Regions from separate parts of the Homo sapiens genome. Here region 2 is linked to region 1. Evidence: promoter capture Hi-C in human tissues and cell types (Jung and others, 2019). All regions are on one chromosome and are shown on one strand. Each heading gives the region's core, a stretch centred on a gene start or on the middle of the fragment in contact. The rest is flanking DNA. Distances are from core to core; before and after follow the strand shown.

What was found. Contacts are between HindIII fragments. The study calls those that stand out against the background at their distance.
Region 2: a fragment that was not itself captured here is called in contact with the fragment with the promoter of ADAMTS18 in region 1 in 2 of the 25 tissues and cell types used here (adrenal gland and hippocampus).

The regions. Positions count from the first base shown.
Region 1 is chr16:77,431,826-77,438,061 of GRCh38, reverse strand. ADAMTS18 (ADAM metallopeptidase with thrombospondin type 1 motif 18) reads left to right here and starts at 3,028. Exons shown (of 23, transcript NM_199355.4): 1 at 3,028-3,456; 2 at 3,557-3,644. The coding sequence starts at 3,367. RefSeq lists an enhancer at 2,832-3,332. The HindIII fragment of the contact is 10,424 bases long and covers 1-6,236 here.
Region 2 is chr16:77,532,519-77,538,754 of GRCh38, reverse strand. No RefSeq gene overlaps it. Among named protein-coding and RNA genes, the nearest start is that of LINC02131, 55 kb to the left of the region's middle. The HindIII fragment of the contact is 3,978 bases long and covers 905-4,882 here.

The sequences.
Region 1 (6,236 bases), core at 1,779-4,278:
CATCTAGAGACAATTTATACATATTGCAGGGCCAGTTCCTGGAAAACTACGTATAAAATCATCCCAGAAGTTATGGCTTTGCAAGTATTTATCAGCCCTAAAAAAGAGACTAGACATCTACAAATGAATGGAACTGCAAGTTTTTATCTTCCAGGTCTAGAACTATGCAAGAAATGAGTCTCAGTTTCTGTGCCCAATCATGGAGGACTTGAATCTGTGGAGAGCAAAGATTGACTGGGGTATGGAAGAAGAGCTGTAAAATCAGTTAAGGATAAACTACTTACATTAGGTTCAAGAGGAGCCCTCTAGACTCTCAAAAAAAAATGGGCACTCAACAAAAAAATGTCACAGAATAGGACTGGGAATCTGTACTATTTATCCAGGTTCTCACCTAGGGGAATTTTACCCACCAGGAAACATTTGGAAATCTCACAACATTTTGTTGCATTTTGGGGGCTGCTACTGGCATTTAGTGAAGTAGAGGCCAGAAATGCTGCTAAACATCCTATGTTTATAATGTACAGGATGATAGCCCCTACCACAAATGATTATCCAGCCCAAATCTCAGTACTGCTGAGATTGAGAAATTCCACAATTGAGCATAGAGCATAGTTAAGGGTTGTTCTCCGAGACTTCAGCCCTGACCATGGCAAGTAACCTATATTGTTAGCCCTAAAAGAGGAGGATCAGAAAAATATGGACAATTTCATGCAAATGTATCTTAATGGAGAGACACAAATCAGGGCCATGGTTATTTTTAGCTGAGTGTGGACAAGCCCTTCACCCTCCAGGTTCCGTCAGTGTTCACCTGATGATGTCGCTGACAGTGCTGTCAATCCCAGTCTCCTGTTTTATTCAGTCCGTTGCTTGGTGATGTGACCTCCAGCAGTGTTTTACTGCATGTCTTTGATGTCCAGTTTCCTCTTGTGTCCAGTTCTTCATGGAATCATATGAAGCACTTAAGTCACTTGTGTCTGAATCACCCACAAGTGCTTACTACAAATGCATGCTTGGGCCCTACACCAAATCCATGGAATCAGAATCACAGTGCTTCATGGCCTGGAAATCTGCATTTTTAAGCTAGCATTACAGGTGATTTTGACGTATATTCAAGTTTGACACAGGATGTATGAAATAACAGAAATACACCATCACTTCTTAAAGTCCACTTATAATGTGCTTTGAAAAATATATTCACTTACCCCTCAGGCTATCCTTTTGATGTAGCATGTTGATTCCTATTTTACAGATTATAAAACAGAGGCCACAGAGCTTAACCAGATTAAGTAGGGAAACCCAAATGATTTGTTTAGCCCTGATGTTCTGTGAGGCTTAGCTTCATGTTCCTTAGGCAGACACATCACCTTCTCTGCCGCTACAGCCTGGGTTTACCTCTTCCCAGCTGCATTCCATAAAACCGACTATGTGTATTGAGCTATCACTTAATCGAGGCTTGACATAGACCTCATGTTAACTACTTCAGTACCCACAGGACTGAGCAGAGTAATACATCTACTTCCACTACCACTACCCTGGTCCAAGCAAGACACTGTCATTGTACCCCTTCATGCCAGCAACAGCTGCGTGGTTTGTTTCTCTCTGACCCTGCCTCAGCTCGTCCAATCCCTACACTCGCTCAAAAAATGGTTCACATTTTTTTATTATTGGATATGATGTTGCCTCCTACACATACACAAACCCACATTCATTTAAATCTAATGGTTTCCAACATGCTTCGCCCCAGCTTACAAGGTCCAGCTGACCCAGCAACTGCTGTGTTTGCTTCTTCCTCTGGCCTGTAACACTTTTCACGTGGCAATCACTTAACTACCTTGAGACCTTCACTTATGCTGTGCCCCCTGTCCTAACATGCAAGATCCTACTCCCCTCTTCCCTTATAAAACCGATCCACTCTCTCTGGCCTTATTTTAAGTGTCAGCTCCTAACAGATGCCTTGCACGTGTATGTATGCGTGTGTGTGTGTATATATATGTGTGTGTGTATATATACACCCACACACACACACACACACACACACACACACACACATCTTATCCCATCTAAATTAGATTCTGCTGCCATCTAATTTAGGAGACTATTCTTTTCCTTTTTAGTATTTGTGTTCATTTTGCTTCTATTACCGTTGTCGAGCTATCCAATCAGATTCGTTTCCACTGGCCCGTGAGACTGTATTTTGTTCACCTCTGCAAACAGGGATCAAAGGATCAAATAAATGTCTTGAGTAAACGAACAGGCACACAGCAAACTGGATGCACATTCCTAGTGATGGCGTGCGCTGTTTGTTATAACTGATTTCTGTGGGTTTGGGTATCTGGGGCCAAGATTCAATCTCGAAGAGTGGGAAGCACGGTCACGTCAAGAAGAGAGAGAGAGATCCGGGAGAAGAGGGAGGCCCCCGCGTGCCATGAGTTTTTACATGCTGCAGACAGTGACAGCTCATTGTTCTGGTCCTCCCGGCTGCCTCAGATTTGCTGACTCTGGGAAGCTAGGTCAGCTTGTGCGCATCTGAGCCTCCTTTTCCTCATCTTTATCAAGGAATTAATAATTCCCACCTGAAAAAGGTAGGGCCTGAGGCAAATGCGATACAGCAGGGGATAGCTCCCAGCACTTAGGAGGTGTTGAGGACGCTATCTTGACTCTTTGCCAGAAGAGTTGAAAATGAGAAGTCTGCACAGGCAGCGAAAAAGTCGCGCCACTCACCTGAGCCTTTCGTCTTCCGAACTCATCTCCCAGTGCGCTTAAATTACGTTTTCCAAGCCTGACCCTGGGCGCTCCCCTCCTTCTCATGGCGGTCGGTCCCTCCCTCCCTATCACTCCCACCCAGCCTCCCCGCCCCCTTCGCCCCCTCCCTCAGAGCTGGAGCCGGGAATCCCACGCCCTTGCACCAGCCCGGGGGCTCGGACGAGCCCGGGAGCCGCTGGTCGCCAATCACCGCGCGGTGGAGAGGCGGGCGCTCGGCTCCGGCGCGCTGGGGGAGCCAGCTGGCGCTGTCTTCCCCATCGCCTCAGACGCTCACACCGACACAGACAGACGCACAGACGGGCGGGCAGACACCGACAGTCTCCCAACCGTTTGCGCTCCAGTCCCGGCCCAGGGAGCCCCCCGTACCCTCTGGGGTGCCGCAAACTGCAGCTCGGCAGGCCCGCGCCGGGAGAAGGGAGGGCGCGCAGGCGGCCGGAGGAGGGGAGGTCCCAGCGCGCCCCCGCTGCGATGTGAACGGCGGCGGCTCTCACCTGGAGCCGCACCTGGGGCGCCGAGCTCCGGGGCCGCGGAAAGAATGCGCGCCGCCCGTGCGCTCCGCCTGCCGCGTCTGGCCACCCGCAGCCGCCGCGTCCGCACCTGACCATGGAGTGCGCCCTCCTGCTCGCGTGTGCCTTCCCGGCTGCGGGTTCGGGCCCGCCGAGGGGCCTGGCGGGACTGGGGCGCGTGGCCAAGGCAGGTGCCGCCGAGCGGAGCTCCGAGAGCGGGTGGCAGGGGGCGCCCGACGCCAGCCCCGCCGCGCCCCTCACGCGCGATGTCACCTTTTCTCTTGCAGGCGCTCCAGCTGTGCTGCCTCTGCTGTGCGTCGGTCGCCGCGGCCTTAGCCAGTGACAGCAGCAGCGGCGCCAGCGGATTAAATGATGGTTCGTATTTGCCCCCCATCCCCAAGAAGGGCCTTTCGCAGCACTTTGACCCTTCCTTCCCCCAAAGAGAGAAAAGATGGAAAAGCGCACCCCCTAACCTGGCAGGTGTGCGCTGTCTTGGAAATGGTTCCTGTTTGGAGAGGGGGGAAGGTTGGCAAGGACTGAACTTATCAAAAGAATCAACGCCCCGAGCTGCAAGTCACATAAAAGCAAATACTCTCCCTCCTTCACAGGTGGCTTGTTAAGAAGAACAAGAAAAAAAAAAAAATCCTAACTGCAGTGAGAAATTCGAAGGGAAGTGGACATTAACTAAGGAATTACTTATTTCCTCCCTCTCCTAACTCTTGTTGGGGGAAGCTAATTCTTAGTGGGAGATGAAAGAATGTGAGCCTCTTTCCTCTCTCCATCTTTCCTCATTTTTCTCTCGACTTCTGTTCCTTTTCTATCTCTTCTTTTTTTTTCATTTCTGCTTCCCTTGTTTTACGGATGTCTAAGGCTGCTTTTAGAGAGAGGAAAGCAGGTGACTTCAGGTCTCTGAGTCCTTTATCTATCTTTTCTGACGTTCGCCAGCCACAAACTTCCAGAAAATCCCTCACTTCTGACATTTATTAACTTCCCAGTGGAGCCCAGAGGGAAATCCTTGTTTTGATTGTTTCCCATCAGCTACAGGAGAACAGCTGATTCCTGACGCAAGGTGTCTAGGAAAACCTTACAGCTCAACCTGGATTCTTTAGAATTCTGTAATTTTTAGTTTTGCAAGGTTATCTCCTTTTCTTGTCAGGGGAATGGGGAGTGGGGCAGGATGGAGTCATGGAGAAGGGATTCACCTTTTGTCCAAACAGAGAGGCTGCAGTTTCTAAAACCACCCCTCATTCTTATATCAGGATCAGATGGCTGGAGGCCACGTCCGACCCAGCCACAACCTTGTAAGGACCTCACCCTTACTCACCTCCTGAAGTGGTCAATCAGAGATCACTCTTTACAGGGGACACTGACTGCCCTTCTTCCATCAAGAACCGAATGTAACCGACAGCCTGTTATTCTCCCCTTGGAAACAAGCTGGTAGCAGGTGTCTGGGGCCGTTTGATGGCTGGTTCCATAGAAGGCTGGCTGGATAACGTTCCTACAGAGCCTTCCAAGTAAGAGCAGGCAGAGTTTCAGATGATTTGGGACAAGAAGGTGAGACACAGACTTCCTGCATATGTCAGGAATCTTTTTCATAGTTAAGTTTTAGTTTGACAGAAGGAGAAGGTAGACTTTCTCTAAGAAATTGCACATAATCAAGAGCCACATCCCTTTAAAGCAATGTATCAGATTTTTAAGAGAAGAAAAATATTGTATGTCTGGCTCAGATTTTCAAGGTTAAGAGAGGGGAAAAACTTTTCCCCCCATTATTGTAAAATATGTATGTCAATTATACAGCATTTTTAGTTAAAGGAGGGAGTCAAGAAGAAAAATGGGAGTGGGAGGACATAAAGAATATAAAAATGAAAGCTGCCCAAGGAATAAGTCACAGATGGTTCATAAACAGAAGAAAATTATTGTCTATTGTGGAGAATTCTTTTTTAATGTGAGCCTAATTAGGCCATCACTCATTGATCTTTGCTAGCTACAGGGGCTCCACTATTCCTTAGTTTTTTTTTTTTTATTGGAGGAGGGGGAAGGTTGTTGACTGTTTAGGGAAAAGAGAAATTTCTCTTCCTTTTCCTCCTCCAGTAACTGGGGACCCAAGTGACTCAAACATACCTCGTCATTATTCAACAGCTTTCTAAACACTTTCCAAAGTAGTTTCCCATTCTGTGCCTTGAAAGTGGAAATGCAGGCTGTTTTTTAATGCACAGAGGGCATATTCCAAATCATTTTGTGGGATGATGCTTTTCAGCTTCAATGTTTGGTGAAAGAAAACAGTGTGCTGGCTTTGCTTTTCAAATAGCAAATTGTATTTTAGCTCCTCCTCTTTGGAACATTCAGCAATTAGTACTGCTCTAGGGAGCAGTGGTGAAGGTATTTTTAAACATGCCTTTCCAGGTGTCCCCTGATCTGACACTCCCCCACCAACATGCCTGAGCAATTTTATACATCAGACTATATAGGAGGGTTCTGACAATTTTGAGGCATTTTTGTGCATGCACTGTATTTTATGCTTACAATTAAATGGGATCATCCCTGTGAAAGCTCACAGTAAAATGCTAAGGGTGATACAAGTGCTGGAGTTTTCTTATCACACATAAATAATATTGGAAAAATGAAAATGCTGTTGCTTGTTAATGATCTGAAATATCATCTGAGGCTACCCCACACTGTGAGTTAGGACTTGAAATGTAAACTCTGCCTCTGCCAAAATGTTCCCGATTCAGTTTAAGCACAGAGAAATTAACCTCCTTGAAGAAATTTCCCGATTTTGTAGTTTTATGTTTATTAACTTTATCTTCAAAAAAATTAAATTTTATATATATGAATGGTTCTGTGGCCAATATTATAAAAGGCCCAGACCATTAAACATCAAAAGAATGTTCTAAATCTCTCTCCAGACAATGAGAGGTGTTACATTTTTCCACAGACATCCATGAAATTCATCAAAATTGTGCTTGG
Region 2 (6,236 bases), core at 1,644-4,143, 100 kb before region 1:
TGATGCTGGAAACCATCACAATGGATCACGAGCAGGCTCTAAACATGTCTTCTTAGCACCCCCTATACCCTGCCCCTCTTCCACCAGGGCAGCTCTGCTTCTTTCTGCTTATTATTTGAAGGTGCTGTATAAGACTTTAAAGAAAGGATCCTTTAAATAAATACCAACATTTGGAAGCCATTGATTGAGTTCAACCTCTGTATTTATCAGAGATAAAAAATGAATCCTAAAAAGATTATTTCCCCTCCATACAGTAGGTGAAGGGAATACAAAGCCACTGAAGTATCCTCAGAATAACACAAAGGGGTGGGAAGAGAGGCATGGGAGGGACAGGTGATGCTGTTTTGACCCAGTACAGGTTATCATGGGGACCAAATGAGATCAAGTGTCCAAAATCACTTAGTACACAATCAAGCTTTATTACTTCTGCTGCTTACCTGAGCCAAATCATTCATATGTATGTATTAATCACTTACAACAATGGTATATAATCTGTTCTGCGTGACAACAAAAATGGACGCGATGAAATTCACATTTCAAGACACTTATGATGGAATGCTTTCAAGTTAAATTCTACAATCTTACATAAAAAGAAATACTGTCTGGAGCTCAGTGCAAAAAGGAAGAAACTTTGGTTTTATAGAAAGAGTTCACCTGTGCTGTAGAGGGCAAGCAAAGTATCAGGTAACCACGGGAGGAGAGGAGGGTTTGAGTCAAGTGCTGAAGATTTGCTAAGTTTTGGCTAGAATCTGGAATCTCTGAACTAGAAGAAGGTCTGGGGACCTCTAGTCCAATTTGTTTGCAACTGTAGGACATTCCTGGGTGTGATCATATGGGAATTGTCTGCTTGAGCCTTTTAGGGAACCTAGATGATGATATTGCCAGGTACCATGCTAGGTTCTTCCCTTTTATAAAAGGCAACATTATGAAGCTGTGATTATCTCCATTTCATAGGAGGACAAAGGTCAGGGATGTTCAGTGACCTGTTGGGTTTGGCTAAGCTGTAAGGTTAAGTTTTGCAAGAAGAGCTGAGGAGTTAGGAGTTGATACTTTGGAATCAGACAGGGCTGCATTTAAATCCTGGTTTTGCTACTACATAGTTAGACAATTTACATAATCCCTCTGAGCTTCAGTTTCCTGGTGTGTAAAATGGGTATGATCATCATAAATCCTGCACAGAGTTATGAGAATTAGAGTTAGTAGACAATGTTGTAAAGCACTTAGAAAAGTATGTGGCATGTTAAGGACTTGACAAATAATGTGTTTCCACTCTCATGGACAGAAAAGAAAGAAACATAGACTGGAGGCTACAAATTCATATGTGGCTTTGAGGAGGGAAGTGCCATTATAAGAAACAAGATTTGGTTTTAAATGCTAAGTCTGAATGTCAAAGCTTGTCTCTTGCCCACAGTAATGAGCTTGCATTTGTCTGTATGTTTTGCTCAAGGTTTCTCAAGTCCAGCACTATGGGTATTTGGGGCTGGATAAATTCTTTCTTGGAGGGGTTTGCAGGGGTGGAGGCTGTCCTGTGCATTACAGTATATTTAGCAACATCCTTGGCCTCTGCCCATTAGATGCCGGCAGTACATCCCCCAACCCCCGTGACAATCAATACCGTCTGCAGACATTGTCGAGTGTTCCCAGGGAACAGAATTGACCCTGGCTGAGAACCATTTGTCTATCCATTGCCTCTGTTCCTTCTACTGCAGCAGTCCATGTAGCTCCCCTGTGAGCATTTTGGCCCAGACTCTCCTAGCAGCTCACAGCTGGAAAGTCCTTGCACAGCTTCCCCAGGAATATACAATAACTCAAACCAAGACTGTCTTTTTTCCCTTAATTCTCATGATTGCACAGTGTTGCTTTTCAGTTTTCAACTCTGGGAATTTATCTTTTCTCACTCGCCAAAGCCACAGCTGAGAGCAAGCAGCAGAAACTGATTAACACTGTCTGTCCAGGCTGAAGCTATTGAACAATTACAAGGTATATATGTCCCGAGTACAGTCTGAACTTACTATATGAACCCAGTTAAAGACAACATGGTTTGTATTTTTTACCATACGAATTTCGTGGGGACTATTTTTCTTCATTTTGTTTTCTTTTTCAGCTATTAGAAAAACTAACAGTCTTTGTCTTCATGTCCTCTTGTTCTTCTCTTTGTGTCATTTAAAATAATTACTGGGAATTTCAGTGAGGGGTTAGGGAGGTTTTTAAAGAGCCCACCTGGTTTAGACATGTCTGTGTGGATGTTGAGCACAGTGTAGTTCTCAGGGGCATGAGGCACACACTTTAAGATCAGGTTCCTTGTCTTGGTGGGGAGAAGAAAACCTGGATGGATATACATTTGGGGAAGAGCTGGAGGGCCTTAATATTAGTTAAGCACCAAGCTAAGCCTCTCACTCTGTTGTCTTATTCATCCCGCACAGGGTATTATGTGAAATGGAAATGATAGTAATTTATACTATAGAGAAAGTGAATAAGGCTCAGATAGAGAGATTCACTGACCCTATATTACACAATTTATAATCCCAGCTGGGATTCAACCGCACGCTCTCTGATGCCAAAGCCTGTACTCTTTGCAGCAATCAACAGGACCTCTACAGAGATGAAGGCTGATGTATTAGGATTTTATCCAGCCTGTTCTCACCCTTCCTTTCCTTTCCTTGATCCCTAATAGCATGCAAATTCTGAAATCTATGGTATATTCCTCTGTATACTCCCCCAGGAGGACCAAGTAGAGATTTTGGCTAAATCACAGGAGGATTGCAAATGACCAGGTAGGCAGGTCAAACCTTGCCTCATCTTGACTGACTTACTATCCTGCAGCTTCAAGATTTACTGATAATGGGTGGCCAGGAGAGGTGCAGAGTCTGGACAGATAGAAAATCAAGGATTTGAATACTTGCAATTTGAATCCAGGTCTACATGACCCTTGGGAAGTTATCTTAATTTGCTCATCTTTGAAATGGGAAAGATGATCCTACTTTGTAAGTTGGGAGAGCACCCAGGACAAAGGAGATGCTCCATAAATGGCTGTCTCCTTCTGCTCCACCTCCTTATTATGACGAGGCATCTTTACAGGTTTCTCCACCCACCTCTTCACACCTGCAGCCTGAACCTCAGCCCTGAAGGCCAGGGATGATGTATTTCTTCCTCACTGCATCAATACTATTTGAAGTCCCATCAATGACTCTAGATGCTTCCAAGAAGCAGGCTCTTTTTCCATGACTCGCTGCCCTCCCAACCTTTGTCCCCTTCCAAGTTTGGGGCACCCTGTCTCTCCCAAGGTCAGCAACTACTTCTCCAAGCTTTCCCTCTCCCTCTGCTTCCTGTTTGTAGCAGCCTCATGTACTCTATTAGGTGAGCTCCTACAAACACCACATTGTCTCCCCTTTCTTGGGACTTGGGGCAGTCAAAAGAGATACTGACCATTGCTTGTTTTTTCTTTTTATTCACATTTGAATGAACAAACAAACCTGTTTGTTTTATGACAGTGACCACAGACAACAGAGAAGAAATCATGTCTCCTGATGCAAACATGATACGGTCAGATATGGTCTGACCAAGAAATGTTTCCAACTTATTTTTATTTAATAGAACAGACATTGCAAAATGTAGCATATTCTCTTTTTCAGGCACTGTTCTAAATACCTGATGCATTTTAACTCATGTCATCTTCATAAGAAAGCCAAAGAAGTAAGCTCTTTGATTGTCTCCATTTTACAGATGAGGAAACAGATGTGAGAGGTGAAATAACTTGCCTGAGGAAACACAGCTCAAACTGGAACTGACTCCTAAGTCTATGATTTTAACCTCTATGCATATGTAATCCTTGTGAAGATGGTTCTATGAAAAGTCCGTAACAACATACAACCCATTAATTTAGTACCAGATGTAAAATGTGATTTAACTGCCTTATTGAAAAGAATAAACTTGCATGAAATTGAGACCTGACTGTTCCATTTCTAGGAAATTGTCCTTCTTGATGTGTTTGAGCCAGATCTGAGAGCTTCTGCCAGGAGAGCAATTAGAACTTGCAGACTCCCACTGAAGTCCCATTTAGCTCCGTGTGTCTGGGGGAGGAAACCAAGGCAGCTCATAGCAATAACTTCATTGAGTTGTTACCCTGTTGATACCTTTCTATTCATCAGGCTTGCAAAGGAAGCAGAGAACTCTGTTTCCCTGCCTTCCTCATTCCCTCACCTCCCCAAAAACATACACCCACCGCCACTGCCACGTCCTTTATTTCTCTACTCTTTTTTTTTTTTTTAGATGAAGTCTAGCTCTTGTTGCCCAGGCTAGAGTGCAGTGGCGCAATCTTGGCTTACTGCAACCTCCGCCTCCCAGGTTCAAGCTTCTCCTGCCTCAGCCTCCTGAGTAGCTGGGATTACAGGTGCCCGCCAACACACCTGGCTAATTTTTGTACTTTTAGTAGAGACGGGTTTTCACCATGTTGACCAGGCTGGTCTCGAACTCCTGATCTCAGATGATCCACCCACCTCGGCCTCCCAAAGTGCTGGGATTACGGGTGTGAGCCACCGCGCCTGGCCTATTTCTCTACTCTTTCTCCTTTACTCTGCCTGGATGGACACGGCCAAACAGATTCATGAGTTTTGTCTGTGAATTTCATTAGTTGGTCATTTATTAAACTCTCAAATCTCCCAAATAAAATTTATTAGAATTAAATGATTAAACATAAAACAAAATTATAAAACATTTATTTATTCTTATTTTAGAAATGATACGTTTTTTCCCCCCCCCAAAACTCATTTAAGTGTTTGGGGAAAAAAAGAATTCAAAGAGAGAACAAAAATTAACCATAGTCCAACCAGTCAGAAACATTCACTGCTAACAGTTGGGAGTGAAGTGTTCTCCCAATCCCTAGAATTTCTCTCTCTCTCTCCCCCACAACACTCTCTCTCTCTCTCCATGTGTATCATACAATTTTAATCAGTATCCTATTGTGTATGCTGGTTTGAATCCTGATTTTTTCATCCAACTTTTTATCAATAGCCGTTTGCCATTTCATGAAATAGTCTGTTAAAATATCCTCTTGGATGGCCTACCTGATGAACCATAATGTTTAAACAATTGCTCTACTTGTTAGATGTCTAGATTGTTTCCCATGTTTATGCCAAAATAATAAACATTTTTCTACATATATCTCTGTCTGAGTTTTTTCCCCTTTCTTTGTCTGTGTAAATATTTTTGTTACAAAAAGATTTAAGTTTAACTTTCTTAGGATAGATAGATTTAGAGGAAAGCAAGGGACATGAGTTTTTTTTGAAGGATTTTATGCACGTTATAAATTTTTTTTTCTGGATAATTTCTATCAGTTTGCACTCTTATGAAAAGAGAATAACCGTATCTATTCCAGTCTTCTTTTGCCCAAACTGACCATTTCAACTTTTAAAAGCTTAGTTTATTTGATAAGTAAAAAAGAAAATCTCATTTCAATTTTTCATTTTCTAAAAAATTTGAGATTTTGAGGCTCTTGTTATCAATTTTGATGAGTACATTTTCTAGTTTACCTATAGCTGTATTCATTAATTTCACCATGTTTTCAGGTAGGAAAATCGACCAATGATCCTTCATAATGAATTTTAAAATACCTATGCCAAAGAGCATCTTGGTGAAATTTAGAAATAGATACTCTCTTTGTCACCTTTTTGAAAATGCTCTAAGTTAGATATCGTAACTTCTGTGTTGATACTGTCACTTGTCTGAGGAAATAGATATATCTCCCTTCCTTGTGCCTGTTTGTCTTTTCAGTTTATTTTCTTGAAGACTTCCTTAACCTTACTGTAGACTCTTCTGGGGATGGGGATGGACAGACATACTTTTTAATTTCTCAAGGCATTTTTTGTTCTCTGTTGTTTTTTTTTTTTGTGCATTTTTAACCGATGTTTATTCTTATCTTTTGACTTTTAAATTCAGGGATACAAGTGCAGGTCTGTTACATACAAAAATTTCATGACAAAGACAACAAAAGCAATTAAAACAAAAGCAAAAATTGACAAATGGGGTCGAATTAAAATAAAGAGCACCTGCACAGCAAGAGAAACTACCAATAGATTAAATGGACAACATACAGAATGGGAGAACATTTTTGCAAACTGCTTCTGACAAAGGTCTAATATCTAGCATATATTAGGAACTTAAACAAATTTTGTGCATGTTTTATTAATATTCTAAGTTTCAAATCTCACAGAAACGTTAACAAGAATTTGCTTTTAAAA